Regions from separate parts of the Homo sapiens genome. Here all the other regions are linked to region 1. The links are contacts of gene promoters, found by promoter capture Hi-C in blood cells and fetal thymus (Javierre and others, 2016). All regions are on one chromosome and are shown on one strand. Each heading gives the region's core, a stretch centred on a gene start or on the middle of the fragment in contact. The rest is flanking DNA. Distances are from core to core; before and after follow the strand shown.

Region 1 (2,602 bases), core at 58-2,557:
CTTCCTAAAGTGACTTTGGTGCACCTATAACAAACTCCTTTTCCGAACACTTCCACACAAAGCCCCAACTTACAGGCAGATGGACAATCCAGCAGCAAGACCTGCCAGCTGAGCTAGCACAGAGAAAAAGTCAACTGACATAAAATATTTAAATTGCAGGAGGCGAGTCTGGAGTTTTGCATTTAAAAAGTTCTGAAAGTCCTGTTCTCTCTGCTCCCAGAGTTGCTGGCTGCCTAGGAGGCTGAGTCTCCCTCTCTCAGGCACAAGATCTCAAATATGCAAAAACTAGAGCTGACTTGAAAGCTGAACCAGCTCCTGTCCTAAGGTAGAGTGATAGGGGGGCACGGCCGACAGCAATAGGAGAAAGTCTAGAGTCCCCTTGCCCCAAGCAACTGGTTTCTGATTTTAACACTGAAATATACAAACATGTGTCCCTCCAGGGCTAGTTCTGAGAAGTAGGCAGGTTTACTCTTCTGCCCCTTTTTACCTCGATTTTGGTGACTCTGAAAAGTAAATACAGGTCAAAGCAGACTTCCTCTAGGATTTGTAAAAAAGAAAATATATATATATATATATATATATATATATATATATATATATACACATATGTATATATATATATATATATATATATATACACATATGTATATATATATATAGCCAGATGCAAACAATCACAAAATTCCTTGGAATTATATCTCAAGAAACACCAACAGGACTGACTCAGAGCCTGTAAAACACCAGAGTTCTGGAAGAGCAACATTTCTGGAAACCCGGCATGTGAATCAAGTGCTGGGTTGTCTCAAGATTCCGGCAGAAACTGTCCTCTGCTACAAGAGTTGCTGTGCCTGGAAACCCAGCGTCCAAACTCGTGGATTCATCCTGGCGCTCATTTCCACGTACGTGGTAGTATCAAGTGGGACACTTCCCATAGAATTCAGCCAGAAACCCTAGGAAAAGCTCATGCATAGCTTAACAAAAATACACAAACACATCCCCAAGGTTGAAGTACTTACCTCTGTGCGAGACTGCAGTCTCTTGTTCATCTCATAGATTCGGTACTCTGGCTGTACCATGTATGGTGTATGCCTCCTATAAAATGGGCCGAAAGGAGAAGAATAGAAGGGGTCATGTGGTGTGCTGGACATCTTGCCTGCTTTTCGAAAATCAAGCTAAACAGAGTATCAGTAACGTCCATGCAGAGCACATGGGCTGTGTTCTTCCCAGTACAAAGTAGACGCACGCACACACGCTCACACACACACAGAGGCAGGCAGGCAGGCAGGCTGAACACGCTGGCTGGGAACTGCTGTCGGAGCCCTCTATAGCAGGAGAGGAGAGGGAGAGGAGAGGAGGGAGGGAAAGAGGGAGGGAGGGAGGGAGCACGGGAGAGGAGGGAGAGGGAGAGAGCAGGAGCTCCAGAGAGGGAGGGAGGTTGGTATGGAGGAAGGGAGGGAAGAAGGGAGGGAGGGAGGGAGGGAGGAGGGAGGGAGGGAGGGGGAGAGAGAGAGAGAGAGAGAGAGAGAGAGAGAGAGAGAGAGAGAGAGAGAGAGAGAGAGAGAGAGGAGCTGGATAGCTTTAGGCACCACTGCTTGTTTTTAAAGAAGCAGTTTGTGGAGAGGTCATTTCCTGTCCACATTGTAGACTAGTTCACAAATATAATTCTCCTCACAGTCTGACAAGAGGTCTAAGGTTTGGTTTTAATTTTTTTCCTCCAGCCAGGACCCTTCACAACCTGATTGCTAAGCTTGTTAGCATAGAGGTGGTCTAACCGCTACATGAGCCGCTCACCCCTGACAACCACACTGTTGTAATGTATCAGAAATGTTGATTACTACAAAATACAGAAACACGGGCACTGTGGTGCCCCGAATTGGGACCGGTGATTCACTCACATGCAGAGATTTATTTCAGCACTAATCTCCCTATGTAGTTTTGCTTTACTTGCTGTTGTTCCAAGGGCTGTTATATTCTTTGCCCTCCACTCCATCTCACTCCCATCTCTCCCCACTCACCCCTCTTCCCAGCCACCTCCCTCTTCTCCAAAGACTTCATTCAGGCCCTTAAGGTGCCTGGGCATTTTCAGGTAAAAACAGTCGTTCTGAATGTGGAAGGTATAAAATACACTTAAGGAGAGCAATGGTCTTTTTTCCCAGGAAGGAAAAACAAACAAACAAACAAACAAAAAACCCAAACAGACCTCCCAATAAGACAGGAAAAGCAAAGAAGGAGAAAACTGCCACAAAAATGACCACGGAAAATTTGGTTGAGAAGGAAATTGCAAATAATTGAATGGATCATCCCCAGATAACATGTCCAACTCTTATGGAGACAAAGTCTGTATTTTCCAAGATTGGTCAAGTAAACAAATATTTTCCCAACTGTGGTATATGATAACCATAAGAAATCCCAACAGCCCATGGAAGGGGAAAATCTCTATAGAGAATTAAACAATCTATAAAATAATCAAATTCTGCTAGAACCCACTATAACCAGAGATACGACACTTAAACAAAGCCCAGCCACACAAAATTTAAATGTATTGAGCTAACACCTAGGTAGGTCAGTGGTATTAAGGAAATAAAGCAAAGGACCACCAAAA
Region 2 (2,602 bases), core at 52-2,551, 440 kb after region 1:
TGCCCAAATCTCACATGGAATTGGTGGAGGGGCCTGGTGGGAGGTGATTGGATCTTGAAGGCAGATTTGCCCCTTGCTGTTCTCATGATAGTGAGTGAGTGAGTTCTCATGAGATCTGATGGTTTAGAAATGTGTGGCACTTCCCCCTTCTCTCTCTCTTTCTCCCGCTGCCATGAGAAGGTGCTTGCATCCCCTTCACCTTCCACCATGATTGTTAAGTTTTCTGAAGCCTCCCAGTCATGCTTCCTGTTAAGCCTGTGGAACTGTGAGTCAATTAAACCTCTTTTCTTCATAAATCACCCAGTCTCAGGGAGTTCTTCATAGCAGTGTGAGAATGGACTAATACACTGAGGATAGTGATGATTATTGGAACCACGTGCAATAACTGAACAATATTTTCAAGCATACGAAGCACTTTTTGAACATAAACCCTTCAACCATCACAACCAATTCGCAGATCATCCTTCTCTACTGTTCCCTCTTGGAGGCAGACAAACAAAAGTCCAGGTCATAAAAAAAAAAAAAACAAACATACGTTCATGATAACAACTCTCACAATTTCTGAAAAATCACTGTGAAATTCACCCCCAAACCCTCACTGAATCAGTTCCTGGGACTCAATGTCTAATCAATCTATAAATGTGACCTATCTCAACAAGTCAATGACTTCAACTTCAAAACACACAAATAGACACAAGCCACAGTGCACAAGGTTATCATCTAATGTGACATGGGGAGACACCAGTTGGGACTATTACCAGGTACCCAGAGGACTGTGTAGGATCATTGCATCTGTGGGTCACTTCAATTTTAGCACCTCGCACATTACCTAACACTACCCAACACATACTAGGCACTCCATAAACATCTGTTACAGTTGGGGTTTCCTAAGCATCTTCACACACATTATATGGTTGTTAAACCTCAAACTATCCTTCGCAATAGGCATTTTTTACTTATACTCACTCATTTTAAAGTTTGTGAAACTGACATTTCTACCAGTTCGACGAGTTGCCCAAAATTGTAACAAGAGTAATAAATGATACAAATAGAACCCATCTCTCCATCATTCAAGGCTAGTGTGTGTAATACTGTTACATAAGTATAAAAATTTCAGAAGTAACATGGAACTGGGATTGACTTAGATAGAACGTCATGTCCCTCACAACACTATAGACCTTGCCATGGTATATGCGGTTCTAGCAAAAATGCATTTTTACACTTCGATCAAAATTTAGCAGAGTATCTGAGAAGGTTGACAAGATGTTAGCAGCAAGCCAGCTGAGAATCTCTGTCTCAATAGGAAGATATGCCAAGAAAGGGAGAAGATAAATGGGGTTTCAGGAGGGGTAAATGCAGTAGGAGTTAGGCTTATAAGCCCTCCTCCCACCCACCTTCTCGAAATCCTACCTCCACCCATGGCTCCACACACATTCTACTAAGATTGTTCCCTCTAGCACAGAAGAGTTTTTCCCCTTCATTGATGAACATTAATGCCGCAGAATATAACTACTTTCATTTTGTTATGTTAATCAAATCACTAATTCATATTTATTATAAAATGACTGGTAAACATAGATAACAAAAATAAAAATTATTAAATTAAAATCACTCTGAATTCCACAACCAAAAAATAACTACTGCTAACTCCTTAATGTAAACATTCCAGAATTTTCCTAGCATACCAACTCATATAAACATGTACATATATTTGCAAAACAATACTATAACTATTTTTAAACCTGGCTGTTGTGTTTTTTTCACTCAACAGGAAATCTTGCACAACTTTTCATGTCAATACATAAGAGCATGTAAACATCATAATGACTTCAGTATAAACTAATGAATTTTCTACGGCTGAATATTTAGGTTGTTTCCAAATTTTTGATACTAGAGACAATATTTTATGAGCATTCTTGAACATACATACATCTTTGGGCACCTGCTTAGCTACTTCTTTAGGATAAATGTGTATTTAGGATAAACAAGTATTTGATTATCTCATTTATAATGGAGAGGTCTTTAATGGCTCCTGCTTGATATTTAGAATAAATTCCAAATGAATTAGCATAGCCCACTTTAGTCTCCCTCTCACCCCAGAACTTCCCTGCATATACTGTTGGTGCCTTAGGCTGTGCTCACTCTCTGTGTCTTTCTCCACTTCACTAATCCTTTCTCTTCTTTCTCCAAACTTCAAAATTCCGCTTAAATATCACCTCCTTCTGAAAGTCTTCTATTATCATGATCCTTCACCAATACAACGCAAATTATACTACTACTAATAATAGTAATAAACACATATATGTAGCACTCCTTTGTGTCAGGAAGTATTCTAAGCATGTTACATAGATATGTCATTCAATTCTTTCAACAAATCTATGAGGTCATCACTGATACCTCAATTTTACAGATAAACTGTATTTAGAAACTTTGAAGTTTGTTAGGATTTATGAATATGTGAGTACTTATACAAACTTAAATTAAATACATATATGCATATGTGTGCAGCTCGCTCTAGCTAGAAGTATAAAACCTTAGCTACCTGTGTTGATGAATAAATCCTTTTTCAAACACACTTAAAACTAACGTTATTATCTAGAGG
Region 3 (2,602 bases), core at 73-2,572, 420 kb after region 1:
TGTGGAATGAAGGAAAGAATGGAAAGAATGGCAAATGACTCCAAGATGACAGCTTAGTCAACAGGCGCTGGCTTTGTCCGTGAATAATCATAGGGGAGAATCCATTGTGCTAGAGCTGCCTCGTGGGTTAAGAACAAACCCAGGAAAAATAGACGGGTTCTCTGTCCTCACAGGCATATTCAACAAGACTAAACACACAAGGAAGAGAGACTAAACACATGAGAAGGATGCAAGGCAGCAAAAAAACCGGCTCTGAACTAGGTAGCCAGACTCCAATGGTAATCTCAAAAAAAAAAAAAATGAATCATACTATTTTGTTTGTGATGTGCCAGACACTGGGCTAAACACTTTATATGTTTTTCCTGCTTAAATTCAGCCCACAAATACACATTATGTGACTGTCTCTCCATGACAAAACCCCTAGGAGATTTTAGGGAAGGGAGAGATTGACCCAAAGGACCCAAAAAGACAGCAAAGCTTGAGCTAGGCCTTAAGAGAAGGAAAGAATTTGAATAGAAGGTGAGTAAAAGAGAAACTACAGAAGCACAGCCCAAGAGAAACATAATGTGAGCCACAAATACAAGCTACATATCCAATTCTGAATTTTCTAGTGGCCACATTTTTTAAAGTTAAAAAAGGTAAAATTAACTTTTAGAATATATTTTATCCAATATTTGCAATGTATTAAAATTTCAGTATGTAATCAGTATAAAACATTATTAATGAGATGTTTTGCATTATTTTCTTTCTCTACTAAGTCTTTGATATCTGGTGTGTATTCTCTACTTACAGAACTTGTCAGTTTCAAGTAGCCAGACTTCAAGTGCTCAATAGCCCCATGTGACTACCACCTTGGACAGCACAAGTCAAGAGGTTTTGAAAAAAGAAAAGGCATTCATGGATGTCTTGCTAGGCCTCAGTCACTTTTTCTACAAACACAGCTTTATTTAATCTTCCAAACCACTCCCTTAGGGGAATATTGTTACAGGTTGAGTATCCCTTATCCAAAATGCTTGGGACCAGAAGTATTTTGGAATTCAGATATTTTTTCTAATTTTGGAATACTTGCATTATACTTATGCGTTCAGCATCTTTACTCCGAGAATCCAAAATCTGAAATGTTCCAATGGGTATTTCCTTTGAACATTGTGTCAGCATTCAATGGCAAAAGTTTGGATGTGAAATCCAAAAGTTTTGCATTTTGAAGCATTTCGGGTTTTGGATTTTTGGATGAGGGGTATTCAACCTGTATTATCCCCATTTTACAGAGGAGAACACTGAGACTCTAAGAGGTTAAGTTGACAGCTAAATAAGTGGGTTGATCTAGGATTTAAATCCAGCTCTCACCAACTTCAAGCCTGGGCATATTCCTCATGCTGGAATTGTCTTAGGAAACTGCTTCCGAGGACCGTGCACCCCAAAACAAGACAACACCCGGGCAGAGAGAACCACAGAGATCCTGGGATCCACTTCTGAGCAGCTTCCTCCCCAGGCTCCATAGCCCACACCAGCTTTGTACAGCCTCCCGTACAGGGAGCAGGGTGGACAAAAAGCACGCAAACACACGCAACTTTTCTCTTTCCAGTTAATTGAAATTGAGATGTACCCTGCTCCATCACAGCAAAATGACGAAAGGAAAGCAAGGAAGGGCACCTGTGTGGGTAAATCTTTTACTTCTGTTGCAGAGACGTACATGATGAACAGATACTTAGTTGGCTGCTTCTCAGCCAGCCAAGCAGGGCTCCCTTACACCCTTTGCGGCTCTATTTTGTTGTCAATTACTGTTTCTAAAACTATTAAGAGAGGAAGGGGGAAGAGTATAAACAGCATTAACGGTAATTTACGATCTGAAAAGGGACAGCAGGAGTTCGAAATCTGTCTACATTAAGATACTTTCCCCACGCTCCTCTGGGTCCTGGAGCTAGAGGATCAGGATCCAGGATCGTAGGAAAAGGATGTTTATACAACACTTCTGGCAGAAAAGACATTTTTTTTCCTTGCACGCCGAGGGCAAGGTTCAGCTGACTTTCCATAAAGGGTCTGGTCTGTGCCGAGCATGCTGTGGGTACCCTGTCCCTGGTGTGGGAAGATACATGAGCTTTCCAGATTTTTGTTTTATTTTATTTACTTTTTGTTTAATGAACCCTCCCTGATTTCTACAGTCATTCAAGCTTGCTGCCACCCACCCCACCCCACCTCAACCATCAGCAAAGCCCACCAGGAAAATTGCCAAGAGAGACACTCATCAGCTCTTCAGTGAGAATTTTGCCATGCTTCTGCCTTTGGTAACTCCAGATTCTTCCAGACAAAGGTTGACTCCATCACTAAGGCATGTTTTATGCCATCCAGTTTAACTTTGCAGGACCTACTTCTCAAGCCAAGGAATTGCAAGACCACATTATGTAGCAGCTTGAGTTAGAGTCTAAAAGGAGAGCCAGTTGCACCCCAGGATTACCATGATTTTTTCCTTTTTCTTTTCTTTTGAGGTGGGCATGAGATACCACGGTCTGGCTCTGAACACAATCTCTGGCAGCTGCTTATGATTCTCTCAACACTAATGATGTGATCAAGTCTTCGAGTGAATTTTGGAGCTGAAGGGAGA
Region 4 (2,602 bases), core at 44-2,543, 380 kb before region 1:
CCATAGAAACTAGAATGCCTCTTCCCCAAGGAAGGTCATAGAAACCAGAACCTATCCCCGCCAAAGGTAGACATAAAATCTAAACATATTATTCTAACTTTTCCCTGCCTTTCTGTATAAGAGCTGACCATAAAGAAATTCTGTGACCTGCTTTGGAAGTAGGTCATAAGACCCACATTCCAGCAAGGATCCTGTCCCATATCCAGGAGGAAGGAATGCTGAACGGAGAGACAAAGAAGAATCTGAACAGACAGGCCTTGCTGCGTTTCCCTATTCAGTTATTCCCATTAGGTCATACTCTCTTTGTCCAATCACAGTCCAACACAGTTGTGCATTCCTCATTGAGCCTAAACATAAAAATGAATCATTTTTCCTGTATCTTTGGGTCTTCATTCTCAAGGCTCCTGTGTCATGTAAAACTTTGATTCAATAAATATGTTATACTTTTCTCTTGTTAACTTGTCTTTTGTTATAGGAGTGACCCTTATAATAGGTAAGAAAAGGAATCACACTTTTGTATCCCTATGCCCTCACATAATTCTGACAAACACGACTAGAATTTGAGGTCCACTTACCTATATATCCAGGGCTTTCGAACAGATAATAGAGACAGCAAGACTTGCACAAACCCCCAGTGGTGTCCAGTTCTAAATCCATCCTCTTCTCACTTCCACCAACTGTCTCATGTTCTCTTCCTTCCTTCTTAAGTCTAAGCATGATAATTATGTTTACCTAGAAAGGTTCTTCAGTTGTTTGTACCTATTACTGACCTAAGCTTGCTTAAACCACTCACCCCATTTAAGGGCCAGCTGCACTTTTCTTTCATTTGTAATTTCTCTGGAAGACAATAAGATTAAAGCCTGAACAACACAAGGAATATGCACATCACAGGGGCCAAGACACCAACCCTAATAAACCAGGCTGTAAAGTAATGAGACCTGGGTTAGTAATGCTGGATCTTCAATCTTGCTTACTTTGATGTCCTTTTTGAAATCTAAAGTGTTAATATGGAAAAACCTGTGAAAAAGGCAAGATTACTATAGAGTTAACTCCATATTCCAACATTATGAAGACTCTGTGTGCATTACTCTGTTAAGAATTCCTTGCTGATCCCACTACAGGGTATATCCCCAAATGAAGATAAATCCTTCTACCAAAAGGACACCTTTACTCATATGTTCATTGCAGTACCACTCACAATAGCGAAGACGTGGAATCAACCCAAGTGCCCATCAGTGGTGGATTGGATAAAGAAAATGTGGTACACATTCACCATAGAATACTACACAGCCATAAAAAAGTACAAAATCATGTTCTTTGTAGTAACATGGATGCAGCTGGAGTCCATTATCCTAAGTGACTGAACACAAAACCAGAAAACCAAATACTGCATATTCTCACTTACAAAAGAGAGCTGAACATTGGGTACATATGGGCACAAAGATGGGAACAATGACACTGGGCACTCCAAAAGCAGGAGGGAGGGTTGAAAAACTACCTATCAGGTACTATGTTCACTATTTGAGTGACGGTGTCAATAGAAGCCCAAACCTCAGCATCACATAACATGCATGTGTCACAAACCTGCACATGTACTTCCTGAATCTAAAATAAAAATTGTAAAAAAAGATGCTTTGCTACTACAAATCAAAGTGTAAGTTACAGACTACTTCATTGCCTTTCCAAGCCATCAGTGCTCACCAGACCAAAAGGAGTGAAAGATTCCACAGTCATCTGTGCAAGTAGATTTAAGAGTGGGTTATCCCTCAAAGAAGTACCACTGCATCTATTATTAAGCAAGAATGGTAAGAAAAGCTTCAGAGAAATCCTAAAGACTAGGAAACATTTTAGAGTATTTTTTTTAGTATTTAAAACAGTTAAAAATCTTTTCAACATTTTCAAATTATTTTCATTTGGTTCATTTACCACTTATTGTAAATGAGCTTATGCTGGAGATAAAATACATGGGTGGAGTGGAACAAACATGGATTTACAAGCTAAGAAGTCTAGGTATGGATTATTTATTTATTTATTTATTTTATTATTTATTTATTTATTTATTTATTTTTTTGAGACAGTCTCGCTCTGTCGCCCAGGCTGGAGTGCAGTGGTGTGATCTTGGCTCACCGCAAGCTCTGCCTCCTGGGTTCACACCATTCTCCTGCCTCAGCCTCCTGAGTAGCTGAGACTACAGGCGCCCGCCACCACGCCCAGCTAATTTTTTGTATTTTTTTTAGTAGAGACGGGATTTCACCGTGTGTCCAGGATGGTCTCAATCTCCTGACCTCATGATCTGCCCACCTCGACCTCCCAAAGTGCTGGGATTACAGGCGTGAGCCACCACGCCCAGCCTAGGTATGGATTTTGACTCTCACTAGATATGCATCCTTGGGTAAGTTATTTAAAAACACTGGGTTTCAGTTTCACCTGCAAAACAATACCCATCTTATATACTGTTGTGAGAATTTGAGTTAATATGTCTAATGCATGACTATTTAATAATCTGTAGATATTATTAATTATATATTAGCAAGCATGCATAGGTTGCAATACAAACTACATTTCTATTACTTTACATCAACAAACAAACATTTATTGAGCT

What was found. Contacts are between HindIII fragments. The CHiCAGO score rates a contact against its expected background, and 5 or more counts as called.
Region 2: a contact is called between a fragment that was not itself captured here and the fragment with the promoter of LDB2 in region 1, in 1 of 17 cell types (endothelial precursors). The highest score is 5.9, in endothelial precursors.
Region 3: a fragment that was not itself captured here is called in contact with the fragment with the promoter of LDB2 in region 1 in 2 of 17 cell types (endothelial precursors and M2 macrophages); the score reaches 16.3 in endothelial precursors.
Region 4: a fragment that was not itself captured here is called in contact with the fragment with the promoter of LDB2 in region 1 in 1 of 17 cell types (endothelial precursors); the score reaches 5.3 in endothelial precursors.

Annotation. Positions count from the first base shown.
Region 1 is chr4:16,897,338-16,899,939 of GRCh38, forward strand. It overlaps LDB2 (LIM domain binding 2), which reads right to left and starts at 1,308. Exons shown (of 8, transcript NM_001290.5): 1 at 1,017-1,308. The coding sequence starts at 1,148. The HindIII fragment of the contact is 2,891 bases long and covers 1-1,745 here.
Region 2 is chr4:17,341,930-17,344,531 of GRCh38, forward strand. No RefSeq gene overlaps it. Among named protein-coding and RNA genes, the nearest start is that of SNORA75B, 22 kb to the left of the region's middle. The HindIII fragment of the contact is 3,005 bases long and covers 1-2,602 here.
Region 3 is chr4:17,321,863-17,324,464 of GRCh38, forward strand. No RefSeq gene overlaps it. Among named protein-coding and RNA genes, the nearest start is that of SNORA75B, 2.3 kb to the left of the region's middle. The HindIII fragment of the contact is 1,694 bases long and covers 476-2,169 here.
Region 4 is chr4:16,513,813-16,516,414 of GRCh38, forward strand. The region is part of intron 5 of LDB2 (LIM domain binding 2); the gene reads right to left. The region is part of intron 2 of LOC105374505 (a long non-coding RNA gene); the gene reads left to right. Among named protein-coding and RNA genes, the nearest start is that of TAPT1-AS1, 290 kb to the left of the region's middle. The HindIII fragment of the contact is 1,040 bases long and covers 774-1,813 here.